Linked DNA regions of Homo sapiens: region 1 is linked to region 2. Evidence: promoter capture Hi-C in 16 types of primary human blood cells and fetal thymus (Javierre and others, 2016). All regions are on one chromosome and are shown on one strand. Each heading gives the region's core, a stretch centred on a gene start or on the middle of the fragment in contact. The rest is flanking DNA. Distances are from core to core; before and after follow the strand shown.

Region 1 (3,657 bases), core at 224-2,723, 340 kb after region 2:
CCTCCAACTGGGCCCACCTCCTCTGCAGAATGAGCTCCCCAAGCCAGCAAGTCCATCCCCATCTGAAGACTTCCTGGGGCCTGGGGCTCAGCCTGGGCAGGGGCTTCAGGGGAAAGCAGGAGTGGATGGAGTATGCTTAGAGGCAGGAGAGATATTTGGGAGCTGGAAGGCACTCGGCCCTGCTCAGGGTTCCTCTGAGCTTTCTGGACCCTCCGAGGTTAGAACACTGTGGAAAGAAGGGAGAAAGAGACCCCACTCCTGCCTCATCCCTGCTAGCCCCGGGGAGGGCTGCCTCATCCTCCCCGCTCTCTCCCCTACCCCAGGGCCCCAGCACCGGGTGTCATTCTTTCCTCCGTCCTTCGCTCATTCACAGAGATTTGCTGGGTAACACCTCAGGCGGCCTTCTGGGTTATGGAGATGCCTCTGCCCTCTGGGAGGGTGTTCTCCCATGGAAGAGACAAACAGGATGCAGAAAACATAGGTGACGTTTGTGATGGATGTGAAGGAGAGAAACTAAAGCCGAAAAGGATAGGAGAGTTCTCAAGATATGATGATATGTTGGATGAGGTGGACCGGGAAGGCCATGCTGGACCTACCACCTGAACCACACCCCCCTACGCGAATCCACTGGCCTCTGTCCATTCAGGTGGAGCCTGTCACCCCAGCCTCGGCTCAGAGAAACAGCTCTGAGCAGCTCTGACCTGTCACTCCAGCAGCTCTGACCCATCACTCTCTGCTGAAGTCCTTTCATGGGCGCTGGTGGGCAGGGGCCCAGCTCCTCGGCGAGGGGCCTCTCCTGGCCTGCCCCGTGGGCCCTGCCCTTCTCCCAGGTCCCCTGTGCCTGCAGCCGTGCGCAAGCCCGCAAGCCGGGGAACTCTCCCTCGGGCATGCAGGCCTCCCCGCCTCTCCAGGTTGCCTGGGCCAGAACGCTTCTCCATCCACCTCCCTTCCTGACCCTGGGTTTGGAGGTCTCCTGCCCCCAGGCCGAGAGTAGGTGCTCCCACCGCTACCTGCCGCATCCCGCACAGCCCCCTGCCCGCCCTGCGAGGGCTGGGGCACTCCTGTCCCGTGGGCCGCCGTGTCCCCGGCACCCCATGAATCCGTGTCGAATGAATGAATGTCTCCGGGCCGGGACCTGGCCTCATTCACATCCGATCTTCCGGGCCCTCCCCGCCGCGGCGGGGGCCGGAGCGCCAGGGCTGGATTCGGGGAGGGGGTGGCGGGGGTGGCTGCCCCGCCCTGGGGCCGCGTTGAGCCGAGGGGACGCCCCTCCGGCTGGCTGGCGAGGCCGGGGTCCAGCTGGCGGAGGCCGCGGCCAGGCGGGTGCGGGGCGGGAGGTGGCGCCGGGCGCTGAGTGGCGGCTCCGGGTCCACCCCTGGCGCGCGGGTGCGGGCGGGAGGGGGGAGGCGGGAGGCGGGGAGCGCAGGGGCGGCGGCAGGCGGGAGGCAGCAGCGAGCATGTGCCGCGGAGCCCAGTAACCAGGGACGACCGCGGCCACACCGCGCCGGCGCCGGCGCCCAGCCCAGGCAGCCCCGCGCCGCGGCGCCCGGACCGCCCGGGCCTGCCCAGCGGCCGCCCCACGCCCCGGGCGCCCCGGCGCCGACAGCCGCGCAGCGCAGCGCGGGCGCCGCAGACAAAGGCGCGGCCCCGGCCCGGCCCGCCCGGCCCAGCCGCTCCTGCTGGGCGCCCCAACCGGGTCCGGCCCGGGGGGGCGGGGGCCGCGGCCGCCGAGGATGGGGAAATCCAACAGCAAGTTGAAGCCCGAAGTTGTGGAGGAGCTGACCAGGAAGACCTACTGTGAGTGCTCCCAGCCCCCAGCCCGCGCCCCGCGGTCACCCCCACACCCACCGCCCCCGCCCCCGCCCCCCGGACCCGCGCGCTACCCGCTCCGCGCTGCCGCCTCCGCTCCGTCCTCCCCGCCCGGCCTCCAATGTGGACCCCTCGGAGGTTCCCGGGCCGCGCCCCTGCCCCCCGCCCGGCCCCATTGTTCTGGCACCCCCAGCCCGGGGAGTGCGCGCCGGTCGGCGTGCGCGGCGCCACCCCTAGGTCCGGAGGGGCAGCCCCAGCCCCCTGGCGGCCCCCTCTCCGCAGAGCTGTCCCAACGGGCAGGGGCTGTTGCCAGGGTGGGGCGGTGGTCCCGGGAGGGGGCGCCCGGCTGCGCGGAGCCGACTGGCACGAGCGCGCGGGGCTGGTGATTCATGCATCACGATGCCGCCGCCGCCGCTGCTGCGAGATTGGCCTGTCGCCCCCTCCCTGGCCCCGTTCGTGTGGGGGGGGGGGTGGCGAGACTTGGCACAGCGCTCGTCGTGCGGTGACGGCGGTGAAGGGTCCCCGGCACCCTGTGGGTTGCAGCACTTACAGGCTGGATTCTCCCTGGCCCCATCTCTGTCTGCCACACCGGGAAGTGGGTTTCTACAGCCCGGGTCATCTGGGCCGCGTGTGATCATTAGCTGTCGCGGGCTGCCCGGAGGAGGATGGCCTGTCCTTTCTGGGCGTCTCCAGATCAGCCTCAGTGTGTCTCCCTCCACTTGCCTAACTTCACAACTCTGCAGTCCCCTTGCAGTCCTAGTTTCTCCATACCAGGCTTCCCCCTTCCCTGCAGCCTCTCCGGAGGTGCCCTGGCATACCAGGGGTTAATGGTAATGGGTCCAGACCACCCAGGGGATTGCCAGAGGGAAGGCTTCAGCATCGGGGTCTGGAAGGACCTCTGCCTGGGTGTTTGACTTGGAAGGGGACAGTGGTTCTGGGCTTGGGTTGGAATTCAGAACCCATCCCCGGGCAGCTGCGTGGGCCCAGGCCCTCTGCACCACCCCTGGAGGCAGCAGCTTGACCGCCAGCCCCATGTGTTGATGGAGGCTGGGGAGGCAGCTCCTGGTGGTGCATTGCACAACCTCTGCTCCCCGCTTCCCCCCACTCCATCGGCCTTCTGGGCACGTCTGCAGGTCTGTCCAAGCCCACGCTTCAGCTCCATGCCCCTCACCCCTCATGCTTGGAACAAAGGGGGCTTTCCTGAGCGGGTGCTAGTCTGCTGCGAGGTGCTGGCCCTTCTCCTGTGGAATCCTGCAGCATGGAGCTCACATCCCAAGAGCTGCTACCTGGAAGGGGTGAAGCCCCTGGGCACAGGGGCTGTTCTCACCCTCTCTCCAAGGTGGGCAGGTGGGTGGCCCATTCCAGTCTGGCTGCTGTTTTGTGAGATTCGCTGGGGACTCCTTCAAGCTAAGTCCAGATGTGGCCCACAGCCGCCAGCAGGTGGACTTCCTGGGTCCCTGTGCCGGGGGAGGGTGAGGACACCGTGGGCTCCATCAGGAGTGGTGGGCATGGGCTGCACGGGATGCCTCCATCATGGTGGGACAGGGGAGTGAAGCCAGGTTTCCTGCTCATCGAGCATGTCACGTGCCAAGCTCTTGGCATCATTAGCACCTCGACTCTGCCACAACTGCTCTACCAGGCTGGGTGCTGCTACGATCTCCATTTACAGATGGGGAAACTAAGGCTCAGAGGGGCAAAGTGGCATTCCCATGATCCCACAGCTAGTGACCAGGCAGTGCCAGGACTTGAACTCCGGTCTGTCCTGCTCCAAGGCTAGTGAGAGACTTCAGAGCTCGTGCCAAGAGCTCTTCTGGGCCAGGCACAGTGGCTCACGCCTGTAATCCCAGC
Region 2 (3,653 bases), core at 179-2,678:
TGGAAAAGCCTATAAGCATAAGACAGGGCTCAACGAGCACCGCAGATGCTGGAAGAAGGGTGCGCTGGTGGTGAAGTGGTACACTTTGCCACTTTCCTGTAAAGCCATTTGGCATTATCTTGGCCTGGAAATCTCATTTCTAAGATATTCTCATCATGGAAAGTGCAGCTAAAGATAAATTTAAGAGAATATCCACTGCAGCCTTATTTGATAGTAAAAATTTACAAAATCACCTACATGTCCCAAAATAGGGGATTTGTTAACAAATTACAATACACACATCTGGTGGAATATTATGCAGCCATTAAGGCTTTCTGAAAAATATTCCACAATATGGGTGAATGCCCACAATGTCATAATGAGTTGAAAAGAACAGGGAATAAAAGTACATAGAAAGTTGTTCACAATCTGAGAGAGAGAGACGAAAAAAAACAGATTGGAAAGAGTATTCAATATTAATACCAGTGCATTCTTGGGTGGCTCTGCAAGGAAAAAAAATGTTAACACTGATCATTTCCGGATGGGAGAATTATGGGTGCTTTTTATCGTCTTGACTATACTTTTCTAAATTATACAAACTCTTAACGATCGATATGCATTTCACAATTAATTGGTTTTAATAAAAAACGCGAGTTAGTGATCTGTTTCTGTATCTCTGGAGCACACCCCGAGACGACACAGCTCAGGGCATGTCCTGGTTAAACATTTGCAAAGAACGCTGTTCTCCAAGTTGGGCAGTGGAAGGTGTACAGTGTGTCAAGAGAAAAATCTACGTCTGAGGAGATATTTGTGACAGCGACCCGGACGCGGATGTGTCTGTCGTCCCCGCCGCCTCCTCCTCCTCCCCGCGTGGTACCCACCTCACCCCGTTGGGCCTCTTCCTCAAGTTCTGTACCTCTCTGGTCTCTTCCAGTTTTAATCTTTAAAAAGAAGAAGAAGCAGCAATGCATAAGCTGAGTGATTCCCCGCGGAATCCAAAGCTAACAGAGCCAATAAGGCACCTTCGAGGGCATCCCAGCCCAGCTACTGAGCCACCAGCACAGTGGTCCAGAGGACGACCTTGTGCCTAGACCCACCGGGAGTCAGAGCCACTGCGCATCCCGGAGGCATCTCTCTCAACCGTTCGAGCTTGGGGCGGTGGCCTCACCCCTTGAGCCTCAATTTCTGCGTCCGCAGAAGGAACCACCACCCGAGCTCACAGTTAACAATGTCAGCGAAGCGCCGAGCCGGTGGTGAGTCCCCCAAACAAGTCTATCTTTACCAAGCCTATGGGAGCCCCGCCCCAAACGCACCGAACCTCCTCTGAGTCCTGCTCATCTTCCTCTGACTCCGAGTCGCCCCGGCGGCGACGGAAAATCTTCCGGACGACCGGCATGGTGACAACGGCCGAGTTGTACAGCCGCCGCGCCTCTGCGCAGCGGCCCAGGCTGCTTCCGGCGCGCGGCAGAGCGGTCAGAGCGCCTGCCCCGTCTGGCCCCGCCCCCGGCACGCACAGTCCGCGTGGCCACGCCCCCTCTCCTGGCGTCAGCCTCTTCCGATTGGACGGCAGAGGGAAGGAGGTGGGGCGTCGCCAGACGGCCCCACAACCCTGCGCGTCGCCTCAGAGGGGGCGCGCTTGACTGACAGGCGGCGGCGGCGCAGTTGCGAGTGCAGGTGAGTTCCGGGCCGCCACCGGCTGCTTCTGTGGGCCGGGCCTCTGAGCATTGGCGACCCCAGCCCGGCTCCGGGCTGACAGGGCCTGGCTTCGCCAGGTACGCCAGACGCAGCGGCCCGGTGAGCGGAGCCCGGGACCCCCCCGGCCGCCGCCGCCCCTCTCCCCTCCTCCGGTCGGCGCCCAGGGGGGCCTCTGGGCCCCAGCACCACCCCACTCTGAGCTCCCTGGGGGCTCGTGGCTTCTCCAGAACCGGGGCCGCCCCCCTCTCATTTCTGCCGGGGCCTGACCTAGCGTTGAAAGCATCCGCGTGGCGTCTCGCGTCTCGGGCGCTGACTTTTCTTTCCTCGGGCTCTGAGCCCTGACGTGCGTTTTTTTCTTTCGGAACAAAAGATGACCACTTCTCTGCGGTGCTGACTTAGAGTCCCAGCGCCGACTGCCTCACAAATAATGGCCCCCAGCTTCTCCGCGAGGAGAGGCGCGTCTGATGTTTTGAAGCCACGCAAGAGGGTTTGAGCCGGGGGACTCCTCCTCGGTGCTTGCCGGCCACCCCCCTGGACCTTCACGGGTCTGGTTTTCCTCCTTCGGCAGGTCTGTCGCTCTACCCTCTGCCCCTTCCACCCCGAAGATGCTGTGAGGATAAAGTTTATTTGAAAAACTGGTATCAGCAAACGCTTAGGAAATACCTAAATGCATAAATAATGGCTTCTAGGACTTTTAAGAACCCCTTAAGTAACAGTAGTTTTCCTTTTCTCAGTGTCATCCCTTACTTTGAGAACTACCTCTTATTAAGCAGTTACTATGTGGCAGGCCCTGGGCAAAGCATCATCTCATTGAATTCTCCCAGCAATCCTTTGAGGTAGATTGTTTTTCGTTTTACAAATGAGAATGCGGAGTCTCCGAGGGGCAGTGCACGCCTCAAGTTACCCAGCTAGGAGGTGGAACAGGAATTGGTTGCAGGTCAGTCTCTGCCGCACGGTTTGCACAGGGCCTGGCACGGTAGGAGTGCAGTAGATGTTTGCTGCTGCTGCAGCTGCTGTTACATCTCATTGGCTAGGGGGAGGGGCCGATGGGGGCTGTCTGGGGTTCCCCTTTCTGGAAGACCATTCCGAAGCAGGGCAGCATTTCTAGAATGCCTTACGTTTTCTCTGGAACAGTCTCCACTGAGATTGTTCTTCTCTTCCTTGGGCTGGAAAAAATAGTAGACTCGGGACTTCTTGCACCAGCGTTTTATCTTTGGTCAAAAGCCATATATTAAAGTCTCAAAGTCTTGCCCTCTGCAGACTGGTTCAGCCAAACCCAGATGCACGTGCACTCACTGGATACGGAGTCCCTGTCAGATGATGGAGAGGCTCCTTGGGAATTGCTGCAGGAGTCCAGGGGGTCAACGTCTGCAGCTCTCACGCTCTCAGAGGTGGCTCTGAATCTGCCCATCAAGCAGCCCATCCACCAGGGGGTACTGGACACTACTAAGGAAAGGGCAAGAAGGCCAGGGGCATTTCTGGACCCTCCTCCTCAGCTGAAGTCCCAGGGTACAGATGAGCTGCTCCCACCCTTGCTCCATGAGGCCAGAGGACCCAGTGATAACCACCACCTGTGCTGTGGCAGATCTAATTGAGTGCTCTTTAGCAAAAGGAATGCTGAAAAAGTGGCAGCTATGAATCTGGCAGTAAGTGGCTTTGCCAAGAGACTGCAGCCCAAGTCTCACTGGGCCCTTTTAAGCGTAGGATGAGACTGTCTCTCAAAAGGACCCTCCGAGAAATACAGGTTCTATGCAGTTCAAAGATGAATCCAAGGTCTTAGTCTTGTTTGGGAGTTCAGTTGTTTTAAGAAAATGTACAGATTCAACCTAGGTTTTGGTTGGTTTCCTAGCTCCTTTCTGGAGCCAGATGAAATGTTGGCTTGTTTCAGGGTTCAGGGAGCATTCATGTCCGATTGGATTTGGGATCCAGCAACGTGATACAGTTCACAGCCCAGCTATAGTCGGCATCCAATAAATGTA

What was found. Contacts are between HindIII fragments. The CHiCAGO score rates a contact against its expected background, and 5 or more counts as called.
Region 1: a contact is called between the fragment with the promoter of NCS1 here and the fragment with the promoter of C9orf78 in region 2, in 1 of 17 cell types (M1 macrophages). The highest score is 5.4, in M1 macrophages.

Annotation. Positions count from the first base shown.
Region 1 is chr9:130,170,931-130,174,587 of GRCh38, forward strand. NCS1 (neuronal calcium sensor 1) reads left to right here and starts at 1,474. Exons shown (of 8, transcript NM_014286.4): 1 at 1,474-1,797. The coding sequence starts at 1,734. RefSeq lists enhancers at 588-1,376, 2,838-3,657 and a silencer at 1,451-1,540. The HindIII fragment of the contact is 9,600 bases long and covers 1-3,657 here.
Region 2 is chr9:129,833,847-129,837,499 of GRCh38, forward strand. C9orf78 (chromosome 9 open reading frame 78) reads right to left here and starts at 1,429. Exons shown (of 9, transcript NM_016520.3): 1 at 1,293-1,429; 2 at 861-920. The coding sequence starts at 1,375. It overlaps USP20 (ubiquitin specific peptidase 20), which reads left to right and starts at 1,612. Exons shown (of 26, transcript NM_001110303.4): 1 at 1,612-1,653. RefSeq lists silencers at 1,361-1,710, 1,741-1,890 and an enhancer at 1,862-2,362. The HindIII fragment of the contact is 4,419 bases long and covers 1-3,653 here.